Linked DNA regions of Homo sapiens: all the other regions are linked to region 1. The links are contacts of gene promoters, found by promoter capture Hi-C in blood cells and fetal thymus (Javierre and others, 2016). All regions are on one chromosome and are shown on one strand. Each heading gives the region's core, a stretch centred on a gene start or on the middle of the fragment in contact. The rest is flanking DNA. Distances are from core to core; before and after follow the strand shown. Region 1 holds the start of PSMD2 (proteasome 26S subunit ubiquitin receptor, non-ATPase 2). Region 2 overlaps ABCF3 (ATP binding cassette subfamily F member 3). Region 3 overlaps DVL3 (dishevelled segment polarity protein 3).

What was found. The method cuts DNA at HindIII sites, captures the fragments that hold promoters and counts their contacts. A CHiCAGO score of 5 or more calls a contact.
Region 2: a contact is called between a fragment that was not itself captured here and the fragment with the promoter of PSMD2 in region 1, in 2 of 17 cell types (naive CD4 T cells and total CD4 T cells). The highest score is 5.9, in naive CD4 T cells.
Region 3: a fragment that was not itself captured here is called in contact with the fragment with the promoter of PSMD2 in region 1 in 14 of 17 cell types (naive CD4 T cells, non-activated CD4 T cells, naive CD8 T cells and 11 more); the score reaches 12.3 in naive CD4 T cells.

The regions. Positions count from the first base shown.
Region 1 is chr3:184,296,325-184,300,490 of GRCh38, reverse strand. It overlaps PSMD2 (proteasome 26S subunit ubiquitin receptor, non-ATPase 2), which reads right to left and starts at 1,250. Exons shown (of 21, transcript NM_002808.5): 1 at 1,090-1,250; 2 at 584-640; 3 at 47-211. The coding sequence starts at 1,224. RefSeq lists a silencer at 1,243-1,582. The HindIII fragment of the contact is 6,965 bases long and covers 1-4,166 here.
Region 2 is chr3:184,191,293-184,195,557 of GRCh38, reverse strand. ABCF3 (ATP binding cassette subfamily F member 3) reads right to left here. Exons shown (of 21, transcript NM_018358.3): 17 at 2,869-2,957; 18 at 2,662-2,753; 19 at 2,324-2,456; 20 at 2,106-2,193; 21 at 1,553-2,018. The coding sequence ends at 1,860. Among named protein-coding and RNA genes, the nearest start is that of ABCF3, 7.2 kb to the right of the region's middle. RefSeq lists an enhancer at 4,081-4,265. The HindIII fragment of the contact is 4,453 bases long and covers 344-4,265 here.
Region 3 is chr3:184,169,766-184,173,582 of GRCh38, reverse strand. It overlaps DVL3 (dishevelled segment polarity protein 3), which reads right to left. Exons shown (of 15, transcript NM_004423.4): 14 at 3,362-3,577; 15 at 1-3,264. The coding sequence ends at 2,828. Among named protein-coding and RNA genes, the nearest start is that of AP2M1, 3.2 kb to the left of the region's middle. RefSeq lists an enhancer at 1,748-2,042. The HindIII fragment of the contact is 3,938 bases long and covers 1-3,817 here.

The sequences.
Region 1 (4,166 bases), core at 1-2,500:
AAGGAATTCCTAAACTAGGCCTCCACCAGGTTTGAAACAGTTTTACCTTATTCTCCCCAGGGGCCATGTTCTCATAGATTTCCTTCAGTTTGCCATAGTGTGGACGCAGAAATTTGAGAGGCTTGGGCACTGAAGTCATGGAAGTTGTAGAAGAACGAATCTGCCTTCGCAATTCCTCCAGCGCTGGTCGATACAGGGATGTATCCTTCTCCTGATCAAGAGACGACAGGGCTCAGACAAAAAGGAGTCACACCCCTTCAAGTCATAATACAGAGATATTTAACTTAACAACTCCTCCAAGGAAATGCTGTGTCTTATTCATTCATCTGTGATTCCTCAACTCCCTGCACCCTGCCTGGCACAAAAACAAATGACCCAAGTTAAGAGGTAAGAACTCTGCTTCTCCCACAAGAGAAAGCTGCAAAACTGTACAAATACCCTTTGTAACTCTCCTGCCTCCCAACATCATCATAACACTGACCCTAAAATACAGTCCACCGTACATAGCAGTTGCCTCAAAAAAGAATAAAACAAGTGGGAAAGATCCAAACATGCACCGAATCATGTTAACATCGTGACTCACCCCTAGTCGTTCCACGAGCATCTCCAGTTCATCTTGAAGCTGTTTATCCTCTTCAGACTGGAGGGTTGGGAGAAGCAGCTCATGAAGAGAAGGAATCCCAAAGACGTCCTCCTCCCACTTACCCGGGGCAGGTGAAGAATAAGCCTGCCTCCTTAGGAGGGGCCAGGTGGACAAGGAAACCGAGTGGGAATGGGAAGCCCTGGTGAGAAATCAGCCTGGGTTCTGAATCAGGCTCTACTTGAATGCCACTCTAGGAAACGGAGGTGACAATGACCTGCCCGAGTCCACTTCACGCGGCGGTGGTGAGGGTTGGTGGGGACGGCGGAGGTGACAGCGCGGAACGGAGAATGAGGAGCAGAGAGGCAAGGTGCCGGGAGTCCCGAGGGTCGCCCCAACCGCCCTCTCCCTGGCGCGGTGGGGTAGTTGGGTGTCGGGCCTGAGGCCTGCGGAGCCGCCGTGACTCAGCCCCGCAGCCTCCTTCGCCGACTCTCGGGGTCGCGCCTCACCAGCTCCTGTTCTTTGTCCTTGTCCCCGGCATCCCGCCGCTCCTTGCCGCTCGGCTTCTCGTCCGTGCCGCCGGGGGCCGCCGCTGGAGACTGCTGGGGCTGCACCGGCGCCTTGTCCCGGCCTCCCTCCTCCATCTCCGCCGCCACTGCCGGCCCGCTGCGCGCGCACCCGCTCGCACCGCCCTTTTTCCCAGACCAACTCGCGCGCGTCGGTCGCGGCGCCCCTCCTCCTCCAGAGCCCGCCTGCGACCGGAAACGCCGGGGCGAGCCGGGGCGCTCGGCGACCCACCCACCCCCTCGGCCTGAGAGCCCCGCCCTCGGACCCCGCCCTCGGAGGCAGGTGGAGACTACAATTCCCAGCCTCCCCCGCGCCATAGTCGCCCCTGGCCCCCGACCTCTTCGGAGTTTCCTGAAACCCGCGGGACTTGGCCGTGTGGGGTTTGGGTTCGCTCACTGCTGTAGATGGGCGGTCTGCGAGCGGAGTTACCGAGTTTTACTCCGCCACAGGTTTTTCTCATAACGGTGTAAATAGAACCCACAGTGACACTCCAGTTGACTGCGTGGCGCGACAGACAAACTAGATTTCTTGACGTCCAGGACGCTTGATTGCCGCCTGTATAAAGTCTGTGTAACTGTGTCTAGCCCCACACCACTGTGGAATATTAACCTCATTTGGTTTTGTTGTTGTTGTTGCTTTTGAGAAGGAGGCTCGCTCTCTCGCCCAGGCTGGAGTGCAGTGGCGCGATCTCGGCTCACTGCAAACTCCGCCTACCAGGTTCAAGTGATTCTCGTGCCTCAACCTCCCGAGTAGCTGGGATTACAGGCGCCCGCCACCACGCCCAGCTAATTTTTGTATTTTTTAGTAGAGACGGGGGTTTCACTATGTTGGCCAGGCTGGTCTCGAACTCCTGACCTCAAGTGATCTGCCCGCCTCAGCCTCCCAAAGAGCTGTAATTACAGGTGTGAACCACCGCGCCCGGCCTATTAACCTCATTTGATATTCCTCCCCAGTTGAAAGAGAGTACTCTGCTATTCCCGTGGCTACCATTTTAAATACTTTGGGGAGCCAGGTGGAGTTGACATCGATCAATAAAGCCCTGTGCTCCCCGCCAAGTTCTGGAGCTAAAAGCAGAACAAGACAAGGTCTTCGTCCTCTATCTTCTCGTCTTTCCCTGTGAAGCCTTAGAGGCGTGTGACTGACGCGCTTATGTCAGGACTGCTTTCGAGTGATTCCATGCACTTCTTACAATCTTTTGAGATTGGTAGGGTTAGGTCCATTTTACAGAGAAGATCATATCAAGTAGTAAAATGAGGATTTATTTTTTATTTTATTTATTTGTTTTGAGATAGTGTTTCTCTCCTGTTGCCCAGGCTGGAGTGCAATGGCGCAATCTCGGCTCACCACAACCTTCGCCTCCCGGGTGCAAGTGATTCTCCTGCCTCAGCCTCCCGAGTAGCTGGATAAAGAGGAGTTTTAGAAAAAAATCCCTCTACAGATGACTGAAGAAAGCATGAAAATGTATGGACACCGTGAAGCCAGAGATAGAATAGGCAGAACAGTTATGGACTGTTGAATTTTTGTGCCACCACGCCCGGCTAATTTTTGTATTTTTAGTAGAGACGGGGTTTCTCCATGTTGGTCAGGCTGGTCTCCAACTCCCGACCTCAGGTGATCCGCCCGCCTCGGCCTCCCAAAGTTCTGGGATTACAAGCGTGAGCCACCGCGCCCGGCGGAATCAAAATTTAAAGCTCAGTCTTTCAGTCTTCAAAGCCCTTGACTGTTTTAGGCAAACCCCAGAGTTTCTTCTTCAGCTGTGTGTGTGTGTGTGTGCGTGTAAGGTGAGAAAAAAGGAAGTATCTCTTCTCCCTTTCACCTAGTGGGAACACTCAGGAGTCTTCTAGCAATCTTATTTTATGGGTTCTGACACATTGAAGAAAAAGACACCTAGTACAACATATCACAGAGTGAATGTTGGGTAAATGTTTGTGTAGATACGGAAGTAAAGGTCTGAATCCATTTTAAATACCTGTTGCTCTTTTCCACTCAGTGCTTGGATTCTAGGCATGACCTTCCATTGCCATTGCCAATGACTCCCCCAGCGCTGGTCTGCAGACAAAAATTCAACAGTCCATAACTGTTCTGCCTATTCTATCTCTGGCTTCACGGTGTCCATACATTTTCATGCTTTCTTCAGTCATCTGTAGAGGGATTTTTTTCTAAAACTCCTCTTTATCCATGACTTCCTTCTTCTTTTTTTTTTTTTTTTCCAGACGGAGTCTCGCTCTGTCGTCCAGGCTGGAGTGCAGTGGCATGATCTCAGCTTGCTGCAACCTCTGCCTCCCGGGTTCAGGTGATTTTCCTGCTTCAGCCTCCCAAGTAACTGGGACTACAGGCATGCACCACCACACCCCGCTAATGTTTGTATTTTTAGTCGAGACGGGGATTCACCATGTTGGCCAGGCTGGTCTTGAACTCCTGACCTCAAGTTATCTGCCTGCCTTGGCCTCCCAAAGTGCTGGAATTACAGGCATGAGCCACTGCGCCCGGCCTGGAACTGTGTCTTATTCATCTTTATGCTCCTAGCCTCCAGCCTAGCGCCTGGCTTGTAGTGAGCCTTGATAAATATTTGCAGAATGCATGCATGCGGAATGAATGAATGAATGAATGGCTTTGCATTCATCTTCAGGCCATCTTTGTGTATAATAACAACCCACTGGGAGCTGTCTTTGGAGGCCAGAACTAGGCACTGGAAAATCATGAGGTTTCTCCATTTGTAAATCATGATAGACCCACTAAAACTGCTTTTTTTTTTTTTTTTTTTTTTTTTTTTTTTTTTTTTGAGATGGAGTCTCCCACTGTCGCCCAGCCTGGAGTGTAGTGGCACGATCTCGGCTCACTGCAACCTCCGCCTCCCGGGTTCAAGCGATTCTCCTGCTGGTCTTGAACTCCTGACATAGTGATCCACCCACCTCAGCCTCCCGAAGTGCTGGGATTACAGGCATGAGCCACTGCGCCCAGCCTGCTTTTTTTAATTAAAAAAAAAAAATAGGACCTCCAATCCTGCAGAAAACTGTGC
Region 2 (4,265 bases), core at 1,321-3,820, 110 kb after region 1:
CTATTGGTGAGGGGCTCAGAGGCTGGAAGCCTGGCAAGTAGGCAGGCATGATCCTATAACGGATGGCTCCCTGATACACCCACCTGCAGGTCTGAAGTTGGAAGAGAATTATGAGGGCTGTGAGCAAGCTCTCTGGAGTGCTGAGCTAAGGGTGCCCATGGCCACAGACATGGGAGGAAGGATGCCAAGGAGGCAGGCACATTAGTCGTCCTTCTGCCAGCTTCACCAGTCCACAGAGCCTTGCTGTCTTTATCTTCTTTAACCCCCGAAACAGGGCTCTCTCCCCGGCGACCCATACCATGCTACCCTCAGCAGCTCAGAGTTAAGATTCTTTGGTCAAGCTTTTTTTTTTTTTTTCTTGAGAAGAAGTCTCGCTCTGTCGCCCAGGCTGAGTGCAATGGCACGATCTCAGCTTACTGCAACTTCCGCCTCCCAGGTTCAAGCTATTCTCCTGCCTCAGCCTCTTGAGTAGCTGGGACTACAGGCATGTGCCACCACACCTGGCTAATTTTTGTATTTTTAGTAGAGACGGGGCCTCCCTATGTTGGCCTGGCTGGTCTTGAACTCCTGACCTCAGGTGACCTGCCCACCTTGGCCTCCTAAAGTGCTGGGATTACAGGCGTGAGCCACTGCTCCTGGCCTGGTCGAGCTTTTTGACTACAATCTGCATGAAGGCGGCAAGTTCTTTCTGCTGACTTTGTTGTCACTGAGAGCAACGCAATATGTCTGTTTTATTTTTTTCTTTTGAGAGAAGTGGTCTTGCTAAGTTTCCCAGGCTGGCCGCAAACCCCTGGGCTCAAGCAATCCTCCCACCTTGGCCTCCCCAACAGCTGGGACTACAGGTGCGTACCACTGTGCTCAGCTCAAATGTCTCTATTTTAACGTCCTCTGCATAACAATGACATATAACAGCTAACTCCTCAAGAAATAATATTTATAAATGATACTACCTGTGTTCAACATCTCTCCCCTCTTAAAGATTGCTTCATTTGAAAAGAAAGTGTTCTATGCCTTCCTGTTAGACCCTGTCCTAAATTCCCTATTTCCCAGGCCCCTCCTATATGGTTAGAGGAAATATAAAGAACATGCAATCACCCAAGCAAAGTGAGGACAAAGATGGTTTCTCTTCAGTGCTGAGTCTAGAGAGCAGAGAAGCAGGGCAAGCCGGAGCCAGATATGACTGGAGAAAGCAGCTGGCCACGTGTGAGGCCAGGTTACACAATCAGTTCAACTGCCCATCAGTGGGGGCTGTGACGACAGAACCCAAGACCCCTTCAGCTGAGGCTGAGCCCAGGCTAGGGCTAACAGCACCGCAATGATGCCAATACACTGCCCTTCATTCCACTGGCTCAGCCCACCCCAAGGTCAGGCAGGCAGATGACCTCCATGCCCCAGTAGCTTGACAATGTCTCTTCTAGAGGCAAGGCTGGTGCTGCTATTGCTTCCTACACGTGAGGGATACAAGTGCCATAGGAAAACGCCAATCCGAGAGTCCACAGCCCTCAGTAGGAGGCAACCACTGCCCAGGGAGCAGCAGACATGAGGCAAAGGAGACGCGGGGAGAGATTTAATTTACATAGCAGCCACTTGGGGTCCAGTCAGAGCTGGGGCAGTGGGGGAATCTATAACCCCAGAGGGTACCCCCCAGACCCCCACCCCCGGGAGACCAGTCCTCACCAACCCTTGGATGGGCTCCCAAGGTTGTGCAGAAGATGCTCCAGTCAAAAGGATAGAGACATTTGGGAATAAGGCTGTCCCCAAGTTGGGGGAAGTCCACGGCCTGGAGTGGTGGCCTACATGGTGGCCCAGGGGTCTGAGAGACCAGTCCATGTCCTGGGCGAGTCCTCAGCCTGGTGGCCCTAGAGGAAGCCTTCGCGGCGGAACTGTTCCTGGAGGAGGGCGCGGTACTGGTCAAATCCTCCTTCCACACGGGTGACGCCGCCTCCTTCGCATACCCACAACTCCCGGCACACCAGCCTGATAAAGCGCTCATCGTGGGACACCAGAATCACACCACCCTGAAAGACAGGAGGGCAGGAGGTGCTCAGGGGGACACAAGAGGCACCGAGGCCTGGGAGGAGTGGTCAGGGTGAAGGCACACTCACCCTGAAATTGTTGAGGGCACGGCCCAGAGCCTCAATGGTCTCCATGTCCAGGTGGTTTGTGGGTTCATCCAGAATGTAGAAGTTGGGGCTGGAAGGCAGAACCAGGAAGGTGGGCAGTGAAGGGGTGCGGTGAGAGAAAATAAAGCCTTCTGATACAGTTTTCTACTGGGCAAGAAGGGGAAATGGGAGGGGAAGAGCTCTGGAAAATGAGGCCTCACCAGGGCATAGTCATCTGAGCAAAGGCCACTCGGCTCTTCTGGCCCCCAGACAGGCTGGCAAGAGGACGCATGGCCAGTTCTCCGGAGATGCCATACCGACCCAGCTGGTGACGGTACTCCTCCTCAGGCCGCCCTGGAAAAGGACTCCCCAGATCAGGTGGCTTCTTGGCCCAACACCCTCCCTGTGCCCTCCAGCCACACCTCCAAGTCCCCATGTCCTTCCATCTAGGCTTGGCGGGGCTGCTCTGCACGCACCCCAAGGCAGGCCTAGCTGCCGGGGTCAGCCTCAGCCCTCTTCCCTACTCAAACTCTTCCCCCGACTCAAATCCCTAACTCACCAGGAAACTTGCGTGCCAGCAGTTCCACAGCACTGACGTTTAGGTCCAGCTGCTCCACATGGTGCTGGCTGAAATAGCCAATCTTCAGATTCCTGCAGGCAGAAGCCGAGGTGGAAAAACAGACAAAGGCAATGGCCACGAAGGAGCGCAGGCAGCATGGGTGCCTGCAAATGTGCTCATGGGGGCAGGGGTGCGGGTGGGCCTGACCTGTGAGCGTGTCTGATGCCCCGAACAGGTGCCAGGTCCCCCAAAAGCAGCTTCAGCATGGTAGACTTCCCAGCCCCATTCTCTCCAACCTTAAGAAACATGAAAATGTCATACAGTGTGTGCCAGAAAAATAAATACGGTATGTTCTCATTCATATGTGGGCACTAAAAAGTGTTGAGCACATAGAAGTAGAGAGCAGAGTTGTGGTTACTAGAGGCTGGGAAGGATAAGGGGGGAGGAGGGGAATTGAGAGAGGGGTTCGGGAGAGGTTGGTTAACTGAAACAAAATTGCAGTTAGATAGGAGGAATGGAGGAATAAGTTCTAGGGTTCTACAGCACTGCAGGGACGCTACAGTTCACAATGATAGACTGTACATTTTCAAAAAGCTAGAAGATTCTGAATGTTCCCAACATAAAGTGATAAATGTTTATGATGAATATGCTAATTACCCTGATTTGATCATTACACATTGTATACATGCATGGAAGTATCACTCTGTACCCCATAAATATGTACAATTATGTATCAATAAAAAGAGCACCGCTGTGTGTAACACAGAGGAGAAGGAAATTAGAAGGGGTCCCAGGCAGTCCCCAGTCCCGATGACTCCTTCAACAACCAAAAAAATATTTTTAAGGACTCTAGCCGGGCACGGTGGCTCAGGCCTGTATTCCCAGCACTTTGGGAGGCTGAGGCAGGCAGATCATTTGAGGTCAGGAGTTTGAGACCAGCCTGGCCAATATGGTAAAACCCCATCTCTACTAAAAATGCAAAAAATTAGCTGGGCATGGTGGCGGGTGCCTGTAATCTCAGCTACTTGTGGGGCTGAGGGAGAACTGTTTGAACCCGGGAGGCGAAAGCTGCGGTGAGCCAAGATTGTGCCATTGCACTCCAGCCGGGGCAACAGGGCAGGACTCTGTCTCCGAAAAAAAAAAAAAAGGAACTCTAACTCTACAGAAAAATGCATATACTAAGGTGAGCAATACTTGAGTATTTGCTAAGTGCTGGGGACTTACTTTTCCCAAGAACCAAGTGAGGTAGATGTCAGCGCCATCTTAAGAGTTAGGAAGCTGCTTGGTAACCAAGCTAGGAAATGGCATAGTCAAGATCCGAAGTCTGACCCTGAAGCCCATGCTCTCTCCTCAATGTCTCCAGGTTTAGAAAACTCAGAACCGAGACCAATAAGGTAAAGCACTGCTTTAAGTATTTTTAAGTATTTTTAAAACACTATACACTAGGCTCTTCCTCCCTGAAGAGCAGCGCTGTGCGGCCAGAGGACAGGGCTAGTGTAAGTCCTGCAAAATCCTTAGCCCGGGCCCTCACTCCTGTTCCACAGACCTCGTCCCTTTACAGCCTGAGGATCTGGGCCAATCCACACCACACACTTAGACAGGAG
Region 3 (3,817 bases), core at 627-3,126, 130 kb after region 1:
CCTACTCTACTGTGTGCCAGGCACTGTGCTAGGCACTTTTCGTACAATATCTAATTTAAATCCTCACAACAACCCTGTGAGGTAGGTATTATTATCATCATTTTACATACGAGGGAACTGAGGCTCAGAGAGGTTAAATAACTCTATCACACAACCAAAAATAGTAGAGCTGGAATTCAAACCCAAAACCACCTAACTCCAAATCCCATGCTCCAATGAATTAAAGTAGAGAGGGGAGAGGGAGGGCCAAATTCAAGACAGAGTGTTGGAGTGAAATGGATATGATATGCTGATAAGATATGGGAAGAAGGAATGTAAGCTCATAAATGTTTCTAGCTGGTGAGCCTATGTAGATTGTGATGAAGTAACCAGGAGAGGAATTCAGGAGGAACATACTTGGTTGGGCAGATGAGTTGAGTCTATACGGAACTGTCCATAGAGATGTCCAGTAGGTAATACCAATACAGATCTAAAGTCTGGGGGAAGTTGGGGGTTGGAGCTATGTATTTGGGAATCACCAGCATATCAGCAGCAATTGAGGACATCAGGATGAATGACTCCATTTTGGGAGTAAATAGAAAGGAAAGAGAAGTGAATCAAAGATGGAACGATGGAAGCACTGATACTGACAGGCATGAGCAATCGTTGAGAAATTCTCAAGAGAGTCGGACAAGACAGAGTCAGAGAGAGAAGTACATGAAACAGCCCTGTAGTGGTGGCTAGAAGCCATGGACTGGGTTGGGAACAATTCTAGAGCTCCCAGAAGGCAGGCAAGATTGAGTCACACTTCCAACAAAGCCCTCTGCACACCAAAACCCCAGGAAGTATTGTTTTTCTTTGTTAGTTTGCTTTTGAGACAGAATCTCACTCTGTCACCCAGGCTGGAGTGCGATCTCAACTCACTGCAACCTCCGCTTGCTTCCTGGATTCAAGCGATTCTTGTGCCTCAGCCTCCTGAGTAGCTGAGATTACAGGCAGGTGCCAAAACACCCATCTAATTTTTGTATTTTTAGTAGAGACAGGGTTTTGCTATGTTGGCCAGGCTGGTCTCGAACTCCCGACCTCAAGTGATCCACCTGTCTCAGCCTCCCAAAGTGCTGGGATTACAGACGTGAGCCACCGCACCCGTCCAAGGAAGTATTGTTAATTGAAATAAATGCCAAAATGTTCCTACCTTGGTTTACCCCAAAACCTGGAGCTAAGAACTTCATCTCACTTTTGACACCCCAGCCCCCAAAATATGGAAGCCCAGGAGAGCCAGGAGAATTTATAGCAGAGGCTTAAAGAGAAAGTTATGATTTGTTTAAAGTAGAGAATAAGGTGAAAAATAAAACCTGGTACTCTGTCTGGAAGTCCTGGAAGTCTCCTTGCCCAACCTCAACTGGCCTGTGGGCTCCTGTGTCCTTGCTCTGGGATGCCATGGTGAATGTGAAAACAGGGGAGGTTGTGTGTGGGGGTGGGAATGGCCTGTCGGTTGCAAGGCGAGTCCTTTGCTGAGCCCAGCCTGAGACCCAGCTTATGGGCTTTATCCAGGTGAGAAAATGCTGGGGACATGTGTGCGAGGTTTAAGGTCTACCAGGAAGGGGAGAAGGGTGTCAGGGGACCAGCCCCACAACCTAGGAGAGGATTAGGAGGGTCCAGCCCTTTGGGCAGGGACCAGCCCTGAGGCTTAAATGAACTTGCATAGGCACCTGTGTATGCATCTCTGTGCATGTATGCATACATGAGTGAGAGAGAAAGATAAAGAGAGCTAAAGAGGCCCCCCTCCCCCCGCCGCAGGCTGCCACACGTGGTGCGATCCGATTCTCTCTGGAAAGGAGGAGAGTCTCTCATGCATGGGTGAAGTTGGGCCCTCCCCAGAAGCCTAGTGACTCATTATGTTAACGTGTGGGTGTGGGGGCTGGACATCCTTGGGAAGCCCTGAGGGGCTGCTGAAGCAGGGTTCCTGGTCTCCTCGGAGGCTGGGCCTCCCCTCGCTGGGGGCTCACAGAAAGTCAAACAGCCCGAAATTCTTGGCTGCTCCAGGCCCAGGGTAAATTGGGGGAGGAAAAAAGAAAGAAAAGAAATGTTTCAGGCCTGGAGGTGAGATGAGCCTGCTGGTTAGTAGGGTTAGGGGTCTGAAGGAACCAGCACGCAGGGCAGGCATGGGGCAGGGGTAGAGCAGAGATGCTCCCTGGAAGCCACCAGCTGCTCAGGCAACTGAGGGGGCCCTCTGGGCCTCTGATCTAGGCACAGGCAGGGATGGCATGGATGGCTATTGGAGGCGACTACAGCTTTAGGTTGCAGGACTGAGGCAGCAGGCAGGGGGATGGTTAGTAGGGGCAGATGAAGCAAATATATTTTGGTTTCAGTAATGTGGGGTAAAGTCAAGAGGTTTGCACACGTGCCTGATGGGGTGGGGTTAATAGAGGGATGATGTAGCTGAATAAATGGTGAAAGGGAGCTAAAGGGGAAACGAGAGAATGAGGGAGTGAGCGTGCCACCAAGGTCATTGCTGGGGTCAACTCCCAAAATGGGGGTTGCAGAGGGGAGTAAGGGGTAGCACCAACAAGTCTGGTCCCAGAGACAAAAGGGGTCCTGGGAAGTCCTGCGCAGGGATTAGTGGGCAGAGGAAACGAACTGGGGCCAGAGGCAGGTTAGGGGGCTGCAGAGCCAATCGGTAGGTGCACCCCACCCTCGCAGCACCCTGCGAGCAGTTAGCGCACCTGGATTTAGTTCCTTTTATTTCCCTTTCAGGTACCAGACAAAGTAAAAAAGACGGACGGATGGAGAGAGGAACGCAGCCGGCTGGGGTGGGAGCGGAATGGAGCTGGGGGAGGGGCCCTGCTCACATCACATCCACAAAGAACTCACTGGGGTTTCCCATGGCCATGCGGAAGGACTGTCTGCTGGCGGTCAGTTCCGGGGGCACTGAGGCCAGGTCGCGGCCCGGAGGGGCTCCTGGGGGCCCCATGGCCGCGGGCGGCGGGGGCATCATCAGCATGGGGGGGCCGTAGAGAGGGGGCACTCCGGGAGGACCGTAGCTCGGGTGTGTGTGGTGGCTGCGAAGGCTGCTGGCCAGGGAATGGTGGCTGCGGTGGCTGTGCTCGCTGGCCGCCGGCCCTGAGCGCTCGCTGGGCGCCCGCTCCCGCGGCCCCCGCAGGCTGCTGCGTGTGGTGTGGTCCGATTCGCTGCCGCTGCCCCCGGACTTGGAGTCCCCGGCCTTCGGGTCCTTCTCCTTCCTCCGATCGCTGCCGCTACGGTTGGAGCCACTGCTCCGACTGCCTGTAGGAGGCAAACAGGGCCGGGGTGGGGCAGGCTGAGCGGGCGGGGGAAGCCTGGGGCCCACCTATAGCCTTCCTCCACGGCCCCTCTACCTTACCTTCGCTGTGCTGACTGCTGGCGCTGCCCCCGCCGTAGCTGTAGCCCAGCTCCGGGAAGCCCGGGTGCGGGTTGTATGGGTGCGGGGGTGGCGGGTACTGGTACGGGAAAGCCATGGGCCAAGGGGCGGCCCCCGGGTGCGGCAAAGGGGCCAGTGTGTCCTGGTCAGAGGCGCCACTGGAGCCATCGTGATCGTGGAGAGACAGGTTGGCCATGTCTGTGAAGGGGAGGGCCGGATGGAGCTAGGTCTTTCCGGAGAGAGGTCCCTAGCCTAGGTCAGGTGGGCTCTGGATGAGAGAGACCGTGGTAGTTTCTGGCTAGAATGAGAGGAGGCACAGCCCAGAGAGCTCCCCCCTTCTGCAGACCCCCTTTGCCACCACCAGAGCCAGCCCCGGGGAGACCCTTCTCAGGACAACCCTGAGTCATCATTCTAGGTTCTCAGCCAAAGCTGTACCTC